Regions from separate parts of the Homo sapiens genome. Here regions 1, 3 and 4 are each linked to region 2. Evidence: promoter capture Hi-C in 16 types of primary human blood cells and fetal thymus (Javierre and others, 2016). All regions are on one chromosome and are shown on one strand. Each heading gives the region's core, a stretch centred on a gene start or on the middle of the fragment in contact. The rest is flanking DNA. Distances are from core to core; before and after follow the strand shown. Region 1 holds the start of CD248 (CD248 molecule). Region 2 holds the start of ANKRD13D (ankyrin repeat domain 13D). Region 3 holds the start of RBM14 (RNA binding motif protein 14). Region 4 holds the start of RBM4 (RNA binding motif protein 4).

Region 1 (3,398 bases), core at 812-3,311, 970 kb before region 2:
CTCTGGCTGTGCTCGGCAAGACCAGCCTCCCCCAGGGCTGTTGGGGCTGCTGTGGGAGCTGGTGAGGGCAGCCACAGGGCCAACTTGGGACTGGGGCCATCTTCCCTTGGGATTTGGGGGGCTTTGGAATGGGGATGTGTAGGGCTGATGGGTGAGGTCTGGTTAGTGGGGCTCTGAGAGGGCAGGAGGGTGGGGAGGGCTGCGGGCTGGGTGGCAGCAGGCACAGAGATTTGATGGGCAGGAGACACAGGGGACCTGGAGGTGGTGGTCAGAGAGGGCTGGGCAGTTGGGATAATGGGAAGCTGGGTGGCCTGGGTTCTGAGGACAAGGGCATCTGGGGCTTGAGGGGGTAGCTGGGCACCGAGGGTGGTGACCAGAGGGGCATGGTTAGGTGGGATTCCAGGCAAATGAGTGGTGGTCTGGGTGCCAGCGACCCGGGTGTCTGGAAACATGGGGGACTGGTGGGCAGGGAAGAGCTCCGGATATTTGGTTGAGATCATAGGGGGCTGGTGGGCAGGAGGCTGTGCTGAATGAGAGACAGAGAGAATACCGGGTTGGTAGGCAGAAGGCAGATCTGGATAGTTGGCTGCGATCACGGGGATCTGGTGGTCACGGGACAAAGCTGGGTGTGTGGCAGGGATCACAGGAGGCTGGTGGGCAGAAGGCAGTGTGGGATGCGTGGCAGAGACCACCACAGGCCGGGTGACGGAGAGCACTGAGGAGTGGTAGGGGACCCTGGGGGCACTGAGCGGGGGTGGCCAGGTGGGCTCCGGGTAGGGTATCTGTGGCTCTCTGTCCTCTGGGAAGCTCGGTCTATAGGCCAGGGCAAAGTCAGGCGGCTGCGTAGGCTCCATCCACAGGATCCCAGGCATCTCCGTCCAGCCACCGTTGAAGGCCTTCCAGGCCTCGTCTTCATCTTCCTCATCCTCCCCGTCATCCAGCAACTCATCTCCGAGGTCCTGGGAAGCCTGGGCACCCATGGCCCCTGCAGGGCTGCAGCTGATGCCATCAGCCTCCAGCTCATGTCCCTCGCTACAATAACACTCGAAGCCACCAACGTAGTTGACACACATCTGCTGGCACACACCGGCAATCTGGCACTCATCTGTGTCCACACAGCGGTGCGGATCATCCTCCGCTGGCCGGAAACCCAGGCGACAGTGGCAGCTGTAGCCTTGTGGCCCACCGGGCTCACACTGCTGCTCGCACGGAGCCTGGGCACAGGGGTCCTCGCAACTGCGCCCGTCTGCTGCCAGCCGGAAGCCCTCAGTGCAGCGGCAGGACACGTGACCATCCACCTCCTCCACACATTCGTGTTCGCAGCCCCCGTTGTCAGGGCTGCAGCCAGTCCCCAGGCACAGGGGCCCAGCCCGTGACCAGCCCACACCTCCCTCAGGCTGCTTCACGCAGAGCAGAGAGGCTCCCCTGCCAGCCTGGCACTGCACAGCGGCCACAGAGCCGAAGGGCAGCCACTCAAACTCTGTGGAGACCAGGTGGAAGGGCGTGGTATACACGGCTGGGCCGGCCTGGCCCGCCTCATCTTGCAGCGCCGGGCAGGCGCCCTCGAAGCCAAACTGGCACAGGTAGCCGTCGACAGCCAGCGTGCACGAGCCCTCCAGCCAGCGGTGCTCGCCACTTGCCTCCAGGGCCACACAGCGCTGGGCCGGGCAGGGGCCTCCAGAGGCTGGCTGGGCCCAGTTGGTGAAAGCCGTGTCCTGGTCCCCTGTGGTCCACGTGAAGCCGCGCAGTGGGCGCTGCAGCTGGCATTGCCGGGCCTGCCGCTGCAGCCCGATCCACAGCAGCCGGCTGGCTGGGCCCGCACCCACCAGGCTGTCCACACGCTGGGCCTCCTCGGGGGTCCGAGGAGTGGCCAGGTCGCCCCCCAGCTCGCGGCAGGCCCGCCAGGCCTCCAGGAAGGTGCGGCGCCGTGGGAAGAGAGCGTAGCAGCTGCTGGGGCCGCAGGCGGCACGGGGCTCAGCAGCCCAGGGGTCCTGGCCCAGTGTGGGCCCTGCGGCCGCCCAGGCCAGCAACAGGCGCAGCAGCATCGCGATGCCCCCGGACTGGTCCGGCCCCGGGCTGGCGGCAGCTCTTGACAGGGGGAGGGCCTGGGGCCTCCTGCGGGCGGGCCGGGGGCGGGCCTGGGGCCGGGCTCAGGCCTTGTAAGGAGTGGGCTGGGGCGGCTGCCAGCTCCCTGCTCCCTCTTCCCCGGGGGCCGCTAGAGCAGGAAGCAGTGGGGTGGGGGGCTCTAAGGTTGGGGGCGGAGGAGGGGAGAAGGCGCAGTTGACGGCTGCCCCAGGCCCCATGGGGCTGAGAGTCAGGGGGTGGGAAAAGCCTGCCTGCCGAGCTCTGTGACCCTCAAGTTGGGGCTCGGGGCTGTGGGGTGAGGTCGCTTCCCAGAGACTCAGAGACCCAAATCTGGACACAGCAGCCCCATCACACCCGGGAGCAGTCTCAGCCCAGCTGCTCGCCATGCACGGGAACACCCTCATGCCCACTCCTTTCTTGCCCCACAGACGCGCGCATGCGCCTCCCCCACCCCCAACCCCATGCAAGAGTGCACTCTCTGCCAAGCTGTTTGTCCCTTCACCTCACCGTGGACCTATGCTGGCTTGCAGATGACTCCCTTGCCACACGTACACACATTCTGACATGCTGAGACCCTAGGTGCACATACAAAAATGGTGTGGCATTCTACATGGCCTGACATATGAAGACCTCCGATTCGGCCTGAATGGAAACAGCTTGGTCACCCAGGCACAGGCATCCTCAGCCTCTCATTTATTTACTGAGCCCCTGCGTCAGCCTCTCCCCCTATACTCAAGCTTTCTGGTTCCAGCTGGGCCAGCGTGTGGGGGTGTTGGGGGAGTGAGGGGGCCAGGGGCTGCCCTCCCCTCACCCCAGCTCAGCCTGGGGCCCTGGGAACCTGGGCTTAGAGGGGGAGGAGGCAGCCCCTAAACAGGAAATGCCTCTCTGGGCTCCTGCGTCAGGAAGGCAGGGTGCGTGGTTTAGGGGGCTGGGTGGGGGCTGGGCTGCACGCAGGATGTGGAAGGCTGTGAGGGGACCCATGCAAGGCCATGTATGGGCATGGGGCACACAGTGACATATATGTGTATATGTGACACAGGCATCACGTGTGTGGAGCCCTCCCTGCCCCCGGGGCCTGCTGTTTCGGCCTGGCCAGGGTCCTCTTCCCGCCCTTCCTGGAGGCCTCTGGAGGCATGTGCACTGAGCCCATCATCCAGGATGGCCTCTGGGGAGCTGGCTGGCGGATTAACCCATGCACACCCGCTGCACTCTTAGCAGAAGTTAGAAACAGTGTGGGGAGGTGGGGGAGAGGTTCCGCCCTTCAGTAAACTGCCCTGATGCAGCTTCCCCCTCTGCCACAGATGGATCGACTT
Region 2 (3,112 bases), core at 217-2,716:
GAGATGTCCTGGAGTAAGCTGAAATGTGGACCTGGGGGTGGCATCAGGGTGACAATGGGAACGGACAGTCTCTCTCCCAGGGATGTGGGGGTCAGGGAGAGAGAGGAGGCCGTGGAAGAGGGTTGAGAAGGCACTGTCATGGAATTAAGTGCCAGTGGGGAGCTGTGTTCAAGATGGCAGAAATCAGGAGAGGCTGGAACCAAGAAAGTCCTGTCGGGGTTGAGTTTGGAGAGGGCTCAGGGAAGGGACCGCCTCTGAGAAAAGGGGTGGCCAGGGAGGGCTGCAGTAGTGGTGAGCAGGTGAGCTCTGGGCATTCAGAAGCCTTCGGGCTGCTACCAACCCCAGGACCTCACAGATTGACACCATAGCGTGGGGTGGCAAAGTGACCCCAGATGGCACAGGCGCCATGTGACTACAGGGAGAAGGCAGGGTAAAAATGGCAATCAGGCCTTCCAGCCCAGAGTCTCAGAACTGAGGACGCCCTACAGCAGGAAGTGATGCTCAAGCTAGCTGGCCCTCCTCAATCATGTTCCACGTAGGGAAAGGGAGAATAGAGGGTCAGCCTTGGCCACCTAGCAAAACCAGGGCCCCAGACCCCAGGCTGGGCCTCCAGTAATCAAGGGCCGGAACTGAGCTGACGGAGGCCTGCACCCTAGTTCCGGTGTGGGTGGAGGGGCCGGCCCTGATTTCGAAACTCGCCTTCCTCTCCTGACGCTGGCAGCCAACCGCAGCCTCTGCAAAAGGGACTCGTGCGGCGGGCGAAGGCAGCCGTTCGCCGCGGGCGGTCCTCCGCCGGGACGGCTCTGCCGCTGCCTGGGCCTGCGCCCCTCTCTCCCCGAACTCCTATCCCTGACTTCAGGGCCCCGGGGGCCGCCTCCCCGCATCGCTGGGCCTGCAGACACCGGCCAGGTCCCAGGGGAAGGTGCTTCCCGCTCAGCCGGCAAGCACTTAGTGGCGTCTGCTCGTTGCTCGTCTCCAGGCCGGGTGAGGGGAGCCGGGGCGCCCCACTTCACCCGCACACCCCAGCAGAGTCGGTGACCGCGGGACCTGGGGTAGGAAGACCGGGGCGAGCAAGGGGATCCGCGGGGGAAACGCAGGCATCACGGCTGCAGCAGGACCGCGGCCCGCCGCGCACGCGCGTGCACTACCGAGGGGCCCAGTGCCCGCCCCCTCCGGCCCCGCCTTCCTCTTCCGGACCCGGCTCCGGGGGTCTGCGCAGGGCTCGGGGCGCCTCCTGCGGGCCGCGGGCGGAGCTGTAACCGGGCACCGCCCTCCAGGCCGCCCCAGCGGACCCGGGCCCGACCGAGGTCGGGGCGCAGACCCAAGGCCGGGCATCTCCTCGGGCGCTCGCGGTTGCTCTGCCGCGCGCTGGCCTGGCCGCGGTTGCCATGGTTGCGGGGGGACGGGGGCGCGCGCGAAGCCCCGCCCCGGCCCGGCGCAGCCCCGCCCGCTCCGCCGCCCGCCCCGCCCTCCCTGCCGCCCGCGCTGCCGCCGCCGCCGCCGCCGCCGCTACTGCTGCGGGGGCCGCGGGGGGCGCAGCTGGGGCGCGGCTCGGAGGGGAGGCTAGGGGGCCGTGCCAGGCCCGAAGCCGAGGCGGGGCCGGGATGCGGCGCTGAGGCCCAGCATGGCCGGCCCGGGCCCCACCTTCCCGCTGCACCGGCTCGTCTGGGCGAACCGGCATCGCGAACTGGAGGCCGCACTGCACAGCCACCAGGTGAGGCCCCGCTGGGGCACCCGGCCCTTCCCCCGGGTCCCCCACCCAAGGCTGTGGCCTCCGTCCTGGAGCCCCCCCCCCCCCCCCGCCCGCTCAGCTCCGCAGCCACATCCTGGGCCTTCCTCCCCTGCACGATCCCAAGCCCAGGTCACCGGCCCCTCGCGCCTGAGCCTCTGGCCTCCTCTCCCCTGCGCTGGGCCTTGCCCTGCTCGCCCGAACTCGCTTCCGCATCCTTGCTGACCCAAGCTGAGAACAAGAACTCTGGTCCTGGTCCCCAGGTTCCGCCAAACTCCTGACAACCTGCAGCTCTGCCTGACCAGGCCCCGCCGCCAGACCCCGGCTCTGCCCCTGCCTTCCCTCCTGCCCCCTCCTCTCCCCTGCCAGGACACGCAGGCCACCCTCTGCCATCTCCCTGGTCAGTCCGCCGTCCTTATTTCCCACAGCGATTCCCAACCCTGCTCGCCCTGGCAGCCTCCCTGCCTTGCCCTCTTCTCTCCTGCCCTTTGTGAGTGTCCCGTCTCCCCCAGCACGACATTGAACAGGAGGACCCCCGCGGGCGGACCCCACTGGAGCTGGCCGTGTCTCTGGGAAACCTGGAGTCTGTGAGAGTGCTCCTTCGACACAATGCCAACGTGGGCAAAGAGAACCGCCAGGGCTGGGCAGGTACTGCAGAGGACAAGGGGCTCCCCCTGAGGCTGGCAGGCGGGGGGCAGTGAGCAGCCAGGCCTGGGGTCATCTGGAGGGCTCCCCTCAGCAGCCTGGTGCCCGCAGTCCTGCAGGAGGCAGTCAGCACTGGAGACCCCGAGATGGTGCAGCTGGTGCTCCAGTATCGGGACTACCAGAGGGCCACGCAGAGGCTGGCGGGCATTCCGGAACTGCTCAACAAACTTCGCCAGGTACAGCAGGGCACAGTTATGGAGGTGGGGTACCATGGCAGGGCACCACCCTGGTTACTGTGCCAGGCCTGGCCTTGGAAAGGCACCCAGTTTGTGCAGTGTGCCTCCTGCCACCAGCAAGGAGGTCTGTCTATCTTGACCCCAGCCCAGGGTCACGTAGGAAAGAGAGACGGCCAGGCTCACGTGGGAGAGACTGGACCCTTTGGAAGAGAAGCCTTGCCAGCTTTGGGCCTCCTGAAGAATGCAGATTACCTGGAGCAGGGACTTCAGGTTGACTCGGTGGATTATGGCCTGAAACCCTGGAATACTTGCTACTACGCACCCTTCTGGAAGCACACGGAGGGGCCTGGCTGGCAGAGCATACTATCTCATACCCCCTACCCCAGGAGCAGGCTCGGAGGGAGCCACTGTGCCCCCTTTACAGAGTAGGACTCTGAGACCCAGTGGAAACAAAGGCTCCCCCAGGGCTCTGCACAGGCTCATGGCCAGGTTGAGGCTGGCC
Region 3 (3,279 bases), core at 201-2,700, 670 kb before region 2:
GCCTCCCAAAGTGCTGGGATTACAGGCGTGAGCCACCGGGCCTGGCCCATACTGGCTCTTGACTCTTCCTTGAACCAGATTTGCTTCTGCCCCAGCACTCTTTGACTTGTACTTTCTGGCCGGCATGATCTTCCCTCAGAGGATGGCTTAGTTCCCTTGATTACTCCAAGTCCTCATCACCATCTAACACGCTTATGTTTTACTTATTTCTTGCCTGTTTCTCCCCACCATAAGATCCAAGAAGGTTGGGATTTCTGTCATTTTTTTTTGTTCACTGCTATATTCTTGGTGGTGTCCACATGGTAGGTGCTATTTGTTGACTGAACACGTAGGCAAATATTTCCCTGAGTTTGTCACATGTCTATGTTTTTGATGTTGTCTGCCATGCAACAATCTTATTTACATACTCAAATCTGTTTAAAAAAATTTTTGAGACGGAATCTCACTGTCGCCCATGCTGGAGTGCAGTGGCGTGATCTTGGCTCACTGCAACCTCCGCCTTCCGGGTTCAAGTGATTCTCCTGCCTCAGCCTCCCAAGTAGCTGGGATTACAGGCGCGCACCACCACACCCGGCTAATTTTGTATTTTTAGTAGAGACGGGGTTTCACCATTTTGGCCAGGCTGGTCCTGAACTCCTGACCTCCGGTGATCTGCTTGCCTTGGTCTCCCAAAGTGCTGGAATTACAGGCGTGAGCCACCGCTCCCGGACTAAAATTTTTTTTAAGGCTCAACTTTTGCTTCCTGCAGAATTAATTTTCTCGTTTATTAAACTGTTTATTATGAAAACCTTCAACATACAATAACGTCATTCCATTATTTCTTGACTGGGAATTCCATCAGGGCAGAGGCCTTTGATTTTTCACCGGCTGCCAGGACCTCAGCAACCCCAGGGAATGTTTCCAAAGAATCAATTAATGGCACGAGGGCTTCTCCGGGGCCTGCCTCAGGTCCCCTCGCGGTGCTCAGCACAGTCCTGGGAGCCGTTTGCCGACTCAAGGCGCCTGTCCTGGTTTCTCCCGCCAGGCCCGGCCTTCCCCCGTACACTCACGCGGCAACCCCCAGGCGCGGGTTTGGACAGGGCTTCCAGAATGGGAGGAGCCCTGACTTCCAATTGTACAAAGTTTTCCTGGGAGCCCGCCGGTCCCAGCCCCACCCGGGCCAGAGACCGCCTTACAGACTAGGCCTCTCTGCCGCCGGCGCCGCTCGCGCGCGTTCTCCTCTCTTCAGCCCTCCCTCTTCTTCCCAACCCCCTCTCCCGCCACGGGCTGTGGCGGTTGGTCGTCCCTTTCCCACCCCCTCAGCTAACGAGCGGGCTCTAGGCCCTCTGGGATTGGCTGTGCCTGAGCACATCTTCCCTCAGCGTTTCTGATTGGTCGCTGGACGCGCGGGATGCGAGTCCCCATTGGCTAGGCCAGGGCGCCTGCGCGGCGGGGTTCTCGGTCGCCAGCCATTCCTGAGGAGGACTGCCGGTCGTTCGGACGTCTTGCCTGTCGCTGGAGGAGAGGTCCGGGCTCTCCAGGAAGGTGGCTGCGGCGACAAAATGAAGATATTCGTGGGCAACGTCGACGGGGCGGATACGACTCCGGAGGAGCTGGCAGCCCTCTTTGCGCCCTACGGCACGGTCATGAGCTGCGCCGTCATGAAACAGTTCGCCTTCGTGCACATGCGCGAGAACGCGGGCGCGCTGCGCGCCATCGAAGCCCTGCACGGCCACGAGCTGCGGCCGGGGCGCGCGCTCGTGGTGGAGATGTCGCGCCCAAGGCCTCTTAATACTTGGAAGATTTTCGTGGGCAATGTGTCGGCTGCATGCACGAGCCAGGAACTGCGCAGCCTCTTCGAGCGCCGCGGACGCGTCATCGAGTGTGACGTGGTGAAAGGTAACGCGGAGGCGCGCTCGGGGGCGGGGGCGCGCTCGGGGCACTCTGCCTGTTAGCCACGCCCCTTACCCGGGGGTCGGTCACTGCGCGGTTGGGAGGGGTGGGGAAGTGCGCGGGAGCAGGTCGGAGGTGTTGGGGGCGCGTTGGGTAGAGCCACCCTCCTCCCCTGCGGTCCAGGAACCGTCCACCAAGTAGGAGGAAGCGGCTCTGGGTGGGTGCGGCGGCCACTGCGAGCCAAGCTACGGGGCCGGGGACGCGCCTGAGAGCCTTGCGAGTGTTCCGGGGGCGCGCCTTCTCCTGGTCTCCTGGGCCTGGCACCCAGCGGAAATTGGGAAGTGACGGGCACAAGCCGGATCATGAAGCGGGGAAGATTTCTCCACTTCCCCACTTCCTCTCCAGACGTCGGTCAGAGCAAGGGAAGAGGGAAAAGGTGGGGGCTGACGCCCCAAGGCCGCCCTCCTGTTCCCTCCCGATGAATGTGCTCAAGCGGAAGGTAACGGGGCCCTTGGACGTTTCTCGGGCTGGGGTCTTTTAGTCTTGTCTGGCATGGGTCTACTCATGGGCACAGTTACACGTGGGTACGAGAGGGGCCCCTTCCGAATCACTTTGGCCTTTCAATATTAGGTAGGTTAGGCGTGGCAGCTCTGTGCTTTTCTCCTCCCTCAAACTTGGGGTTTTTCTTTGGGCTCGATTTTACATCTGTCAACTGGAAACCCCAGCCTTTTGCATGTGCAAGAAAGCTTGTTTTATGAAGTCCCCTTCTGCGTAGTCTTTACATGCCAAGCCAGTGCCCTAGGGCAGTGTCATTCTTTTATAAGCTTGGTGACTTTGCAGGGGGGCATACTCTGGCTGAGGGGGTCCTGGGGAGGGGTCTGTGAGAGCTCTTCATTAAACAGTGGCTAAACACGGTTTACTGAATCAGTAGTAGTCATTGCTTGAGTAGTCTGATTCTCAGGGCAGATCCCGGTGCCTTTTCTTCGAGAAAAATGTGTCACCATAATTTAAGCCTGACTAGGGACCCAGTTGACTTTTTCATAGCTTGAGTTTTTATCCCTTAAGCTCTTTATCTTTTACATTGGCAAGATTTGGTGGGACAGCCGTTGTGTATGTGGCCAGTCTCTGCTCCACTTGGGAACAGATCAGAGTTAACTTTGCCCTGTCATTTTGGAAGATGCAGCCTGGGAGTATCTGATGCCCTACTCCTGGTGGGTTCATACCTGCTCATACCCTGTGTGAGAAGTTTCAGGGATAGGAAATAAATGTGGGTGCAAGTGCTTATTTATCCCACCAAGATATTTCATTTGCTGTCCTGGAAAGGCACATGTTTGGGGCCATTCCTAGTCCTTTAAGTGGGGGAAATATAAAGGGTCATAGTGTCCACTACTAGGAACAAGTCCTTGT
Region 4 (3,289 bases), core at 235-2,734, 650 kb before region 2:
TTACAGGGGCCTGCCACCACATTGGGCTAATTTTTGTATTTTTAGTGGAGATGGCGTTCACCATGTTGGCTAGGCTGGTCTTGAACTCCTGACCTCAGGTGATCCGCCCGCCTCGGCCTCCCAAAGTGCTGGGATTACAGGCGTGGGCCACCGCACCTGGCCCTCGTGTTGGGTTTTAAAACCCACTCTTTTTTTTCCCCCCCAAACTCTGACTTCACCTTTCTCTTTATGAAACCGTTCTCTTTTTGGGGCGGGGGTGGTGGTGAAGAAGCTGCTTTGGATGGTGGTGTGTGGTACTTGTGTCATCTTCACTCCTGATGATCCCTTTCCTCATAAACTCTGCACTGCTTTTAGCCTGTTTTGTTCGTGTTATAAGTTCTTCCATCCAGTCCCTGCACTCCACCTTTTAACCCTTTTCAAAAGCTGCTTCGCAAAGGGTCTTGACTAAAGTTGCTTGCTTAATGAATATGAAGCAGCCTAAGGATGAGAGAAAACGAGGCAGCAGCTGGACCCTCTGGAGAATGTTACTTTGTATTTTGTTTACAGCTGGTTGTGACTAAGCTCTGTCCTCTAAAGTCGGTTCTAGGGGATTAAAACAGCTCTGGCTGATGGCGCCCAATAAAATAAAACAAAAAAACCTTTGCTGCTCCAGTTTTTTCTCAGGGTGGGGTCGGGGTATACTTTAAATCTCCATGGTCTCAGAAAGGTTTCTTCATCGCGGACCCTGGGAGGCTGGTTCCCAGAGGGAACTTGTCCTCAGCGTCTCCTGGACAGTGCAGCCTCCTGCCGGGCCTACTTCTGGAAGGCCATTACAGAGGTCCTTTCACCACCTGTGAGAGGTTTGATTTTGGGGGAGCTCCGGGACTCTCAAGGCTACAGTGTGGACTGCTGGCCCAAGGAGAAGGTTGGTTTCCTGAAGTGGTGGGTGGTGGGTTGGGGGGGGTCTTCGTTGTTTTTCTTCCCTGGCATGTGCCTGCATAAGCTATTTCCACAGCGTCCTGGCCGCGAGGGGGGGTGGTGCTTGGGAGGTTAGAGGGAGACACCTAGAGTGAACGGCAAAATGGAGCGCGGAATACTGTCTGGCTGTGCACGTGGAGGTGGCGAAATGTGGAAGCTTAACGAAGTTGGCGCCATGAAGCTAAAGACTGCTACCCCGGGGCTCTAGCTCGCTCCGCCTAATGGCGGGCCGCACCCCGCCGGCGAAGCCCACGTTTGTAGGTCCGCCCTCACGCTGATCTCTTGCCCAATCAGCGAGTTCGGCTTCGCGAGGTTGGTGCCCATTGGCTTTCGCATAAAAGCTCCGAGGTTACAGACGTTTCCACCTCTTGCCGGCCTCTTAGGTAATTGGCGTCCGTGGTAACCAATCAGGAAGAGGATCTGAGGGAACGCCGGCCTTTTACTTTCTTGAGTGGCCAATCCGGTTGTAGGCTCACCTCCCCCTTCTACTCAGAGCACTGCTGCGGCCGCCGCCATTTTAGCGTTTTGTCAGAAGCGTCCGCGCCGCGAGGAGGAGGCCCTGCTGGTTTCTGTGCGGGTGAGACTCCGAGCCTTTCCACTGCCTTTCTTGTACTGTGTTAAATCTTCTCTCACTCCCTTGGGCTTCGGGGGTGTCCTGGTAGGTCCGCAGTCTCCACACCCGTCACTGAGAGCCGACCTCGGTCCTCGGCATTGCGCGGTAAGCCGGGAGCAGCCCTTCCCCCACCGCCCCCTGAGAATACCTTGCTTTTTTTCGCCCACCCTGTCCCGCGCCCGACATGGCTGCTCTTGGAGCCTCGAGATTTCCACTGGGATAACCCCCTTTCCCTTATATCTGACAGTTACATTCTCGTTTCGGGAATTTCTCGGGCCGTGAGACATCGTCTGGTTAATGAATCTGAAGCTCTTTTCCGCGGCCGCGCATTTCAGTGTTCGGCAGGAGCTAGGACGGTGCCCCGAGAGAGGCGTTCACCACTCCAGTATTTCCTTTATCTCCCACTCCTCGCTGTCTGATCCGAGTCGCGCGTTCATTACTTCCAAAGGAAACTCAAATGTAGCTATTACAAGGCCCATTTTCCCGGAAATGATGGCTGCTTTGGTTCCTACGTGAGGAAAAGCCTGTTGATAATTTCAGGCAGGCAGTCAGCAAGCCTAGTAGACTTTTGTTTTCTGTTGTCCTCCTAGTGGATAGAAAAGCCTAGTACCCCCATTTCTTCATATGCTGTCTTTCATGCCCATTTCTGTTGGAAGGTATCGGTTCTTACCAAACCCTTTGTCTACTAAGGACCTCCCTATTGCAGACGTCTTCTTATTCTTACAGGTTCATGGCGGCTACTATAGCAGGCCTTAGTTCACTCCCACTTCCATTTGATTATTGTGTGGAGGTGTGTGTGCAGGCGTGTGAGAGAGAAAACTGGAAATATACATTAGAGTGAAAGTCGTTGTCTTTTGTGAACGGATGTGGGCCTGAGGTCTTTTGTCAGATGTCTTGTTTTTCTCTCCCAGGCTCTTGTCAGGATGGTGAAGCTGTTCATCGGAAACCTGCCCCGGGAGGCTACAGAGCAGGAGATTCGCTCACTCTTCGAGCAGTATGGGAAGGTGCTGGAATGTGACATCATTAAGAATTACGGCTTTGTGCACATAGAAGACAAGACGGCAGCTGAGGATGCCATACGCAACCTGCACCATTACAAGCTTCATGGGGTGAACATCAACGTGGAAGCCAGCAAGAATAAGAGCAAAACCTCAACAAAGTTGCATGTGGGCAACATCAGTCCCACCTGCACCAATAAGGAGCTTCGAGCCAAGTTTGAGGAGTATGGTCCGGTCATCGAATGTGACATCGTGAAAGATTATGCCTTCGTACACATGGAGCGGGCAGAGGATGCAGTGGAGGCCATCAGGGGCCTTGATAACACAGAGTTTCAAGGTGAACCACCCTCTTTGGGTAGAGGGCTGAACACAAGGCTGTGTGCAGAAAATGGTTGGATAAGTAAAAGGAGAGGTTTGGTAAAGATAACAGCTGTTGGCTGGCTGGTGATGAAGAAATAAGTGTGGGTGATGGACTTCTTATGATGTAGAATGCATGGGACTTAGGGGCTTTACCTTAGGCAAATGTCTCCTGGAGAAAAGCCACTCACCTTTTATTTGGAGCCCCTACGGCTTTTGTGCTTATCAGTGCAGAAACCCTTTTCTTTGAAGGCTTTCTGAGTTACTGGGCCTTTTTTATTTTTTATTTTTTTGTAGTAGAGCACAGTTCAGAGTTCCTCACTCTGAATTTATTGCCCTCAGCACAGGATCAGAATTCTGCATT

What was found. The method cuts DNA at HindIII sites, captures the fragments that hold promoters and counts their contacts. A CHiCAGO score of 5 or more calls a contact.
Region 1: a contact is called between the fragment with the promoter of CD248 here and the fragment with the promoter of ANKRD13D in region 2, in 4 of 17 cell types (naive CD8 T cells, fetal thymus, total CD8 T cells and 1 more). The highest score is 9.6, in naive CD8 T cells.
Region 3: the fragment with the promoter of RBM14 here is called in contact with the fragment with the promoter of ANKRD13D in region 2 in 2 of 17 cell types (non-activated CD4 T cells and M0 macrophages); the score reaches 6.9 in non-activated CD4 T cells.
Region 4: a contact is called between the fragment with the promoter of RBM4 here and the fragment with the promoter of ANKRD13D in region 2, in 1 of 17 cell types (total CD8 T cells). The highest score is 5.3, in total CD8 T cells.

Annotation. Positions count from the first base shown.
Region 1 is chr11:66,314,983-66,318,380 of GRCh38, forward strand. CD248 (CD248 molecule) reads right to left here and starts at 2,062. Exons shown (of 1, transcript NM_020404.3): 1 at 1-2,062. The coding sequence starts at 2,045. RefSeq lists an enhancer at 811-1,507 and a silencer at 1,991-2,260. The HindIII fragment of the contact is 3,746 bases long and covers 1-2,820 here.
Region 2 is chr11:67,287,837-67,290,948 of GRCh38, forward strand. It overlaps ANKRD13D (ankyrin repeat domain 13D), which reads left to right and starts at 1,467. Exons shown (of 15, transcript NM_207354.3): 1 at 1,467-1,714; 2 at 2,242-2,377; 3 at 2,486-2,610. The coding sequence starts at 1,625. RefSeq lists enhancers at 373-582, 1,817-2,741, 2,742-3,112 and silencers at 803-872, 1,053-1,822. The HindIII fragment of the contact is 22,420 bases long and covers 1-3,112 here.
Region 3 is chr11:66,615,180-66,618,458 of GRCh38, forward strand. It overlaps RBM14 (RNA binding motif protein 14), which reads left to right and starts at 1,451. Exons shown (of 3, transcript NM_006328.4): 1 at 1,451-1,878. The coding sequence starts at 1,542. It overlaps RBM14-RBM4 (RBM14-RBM4 readthrough), which reads left to right and starts at 1,451. Exons shown (of 2, transcript NM_001198846.2): 1 at 1,451-1,878. The coding sequence starts at 1,542. RefSeq lists enhancers at 927-1,036, 1,401-2,334, 1,467-1,696. The HindIII fragment of the contact is 6,097 bases long and covers 1-2,616 here.
Region 4 is chr11:66,637,219-66,640,507 of GRCh38, forward strand. RBM4 (RNA binding motif protein 4) reads left to right here and starts at 1,485. Exons shown (of 4, transcript NM_002896.4): 1 at 1,485-1,534; 2 at 2,482-2,905. The coding sequence starts at 2,494. All of the region lies in intron 1 of RBM14-RBM4 (RBM14-RBM4 readthrough), which reads left to right. RefSeq lists enhancers at 936-1,649, 1,414-1,783, 1,650-2,361. The HindIII fragment of the contact is 1,556 bases long and covers 1,113-2,668 here.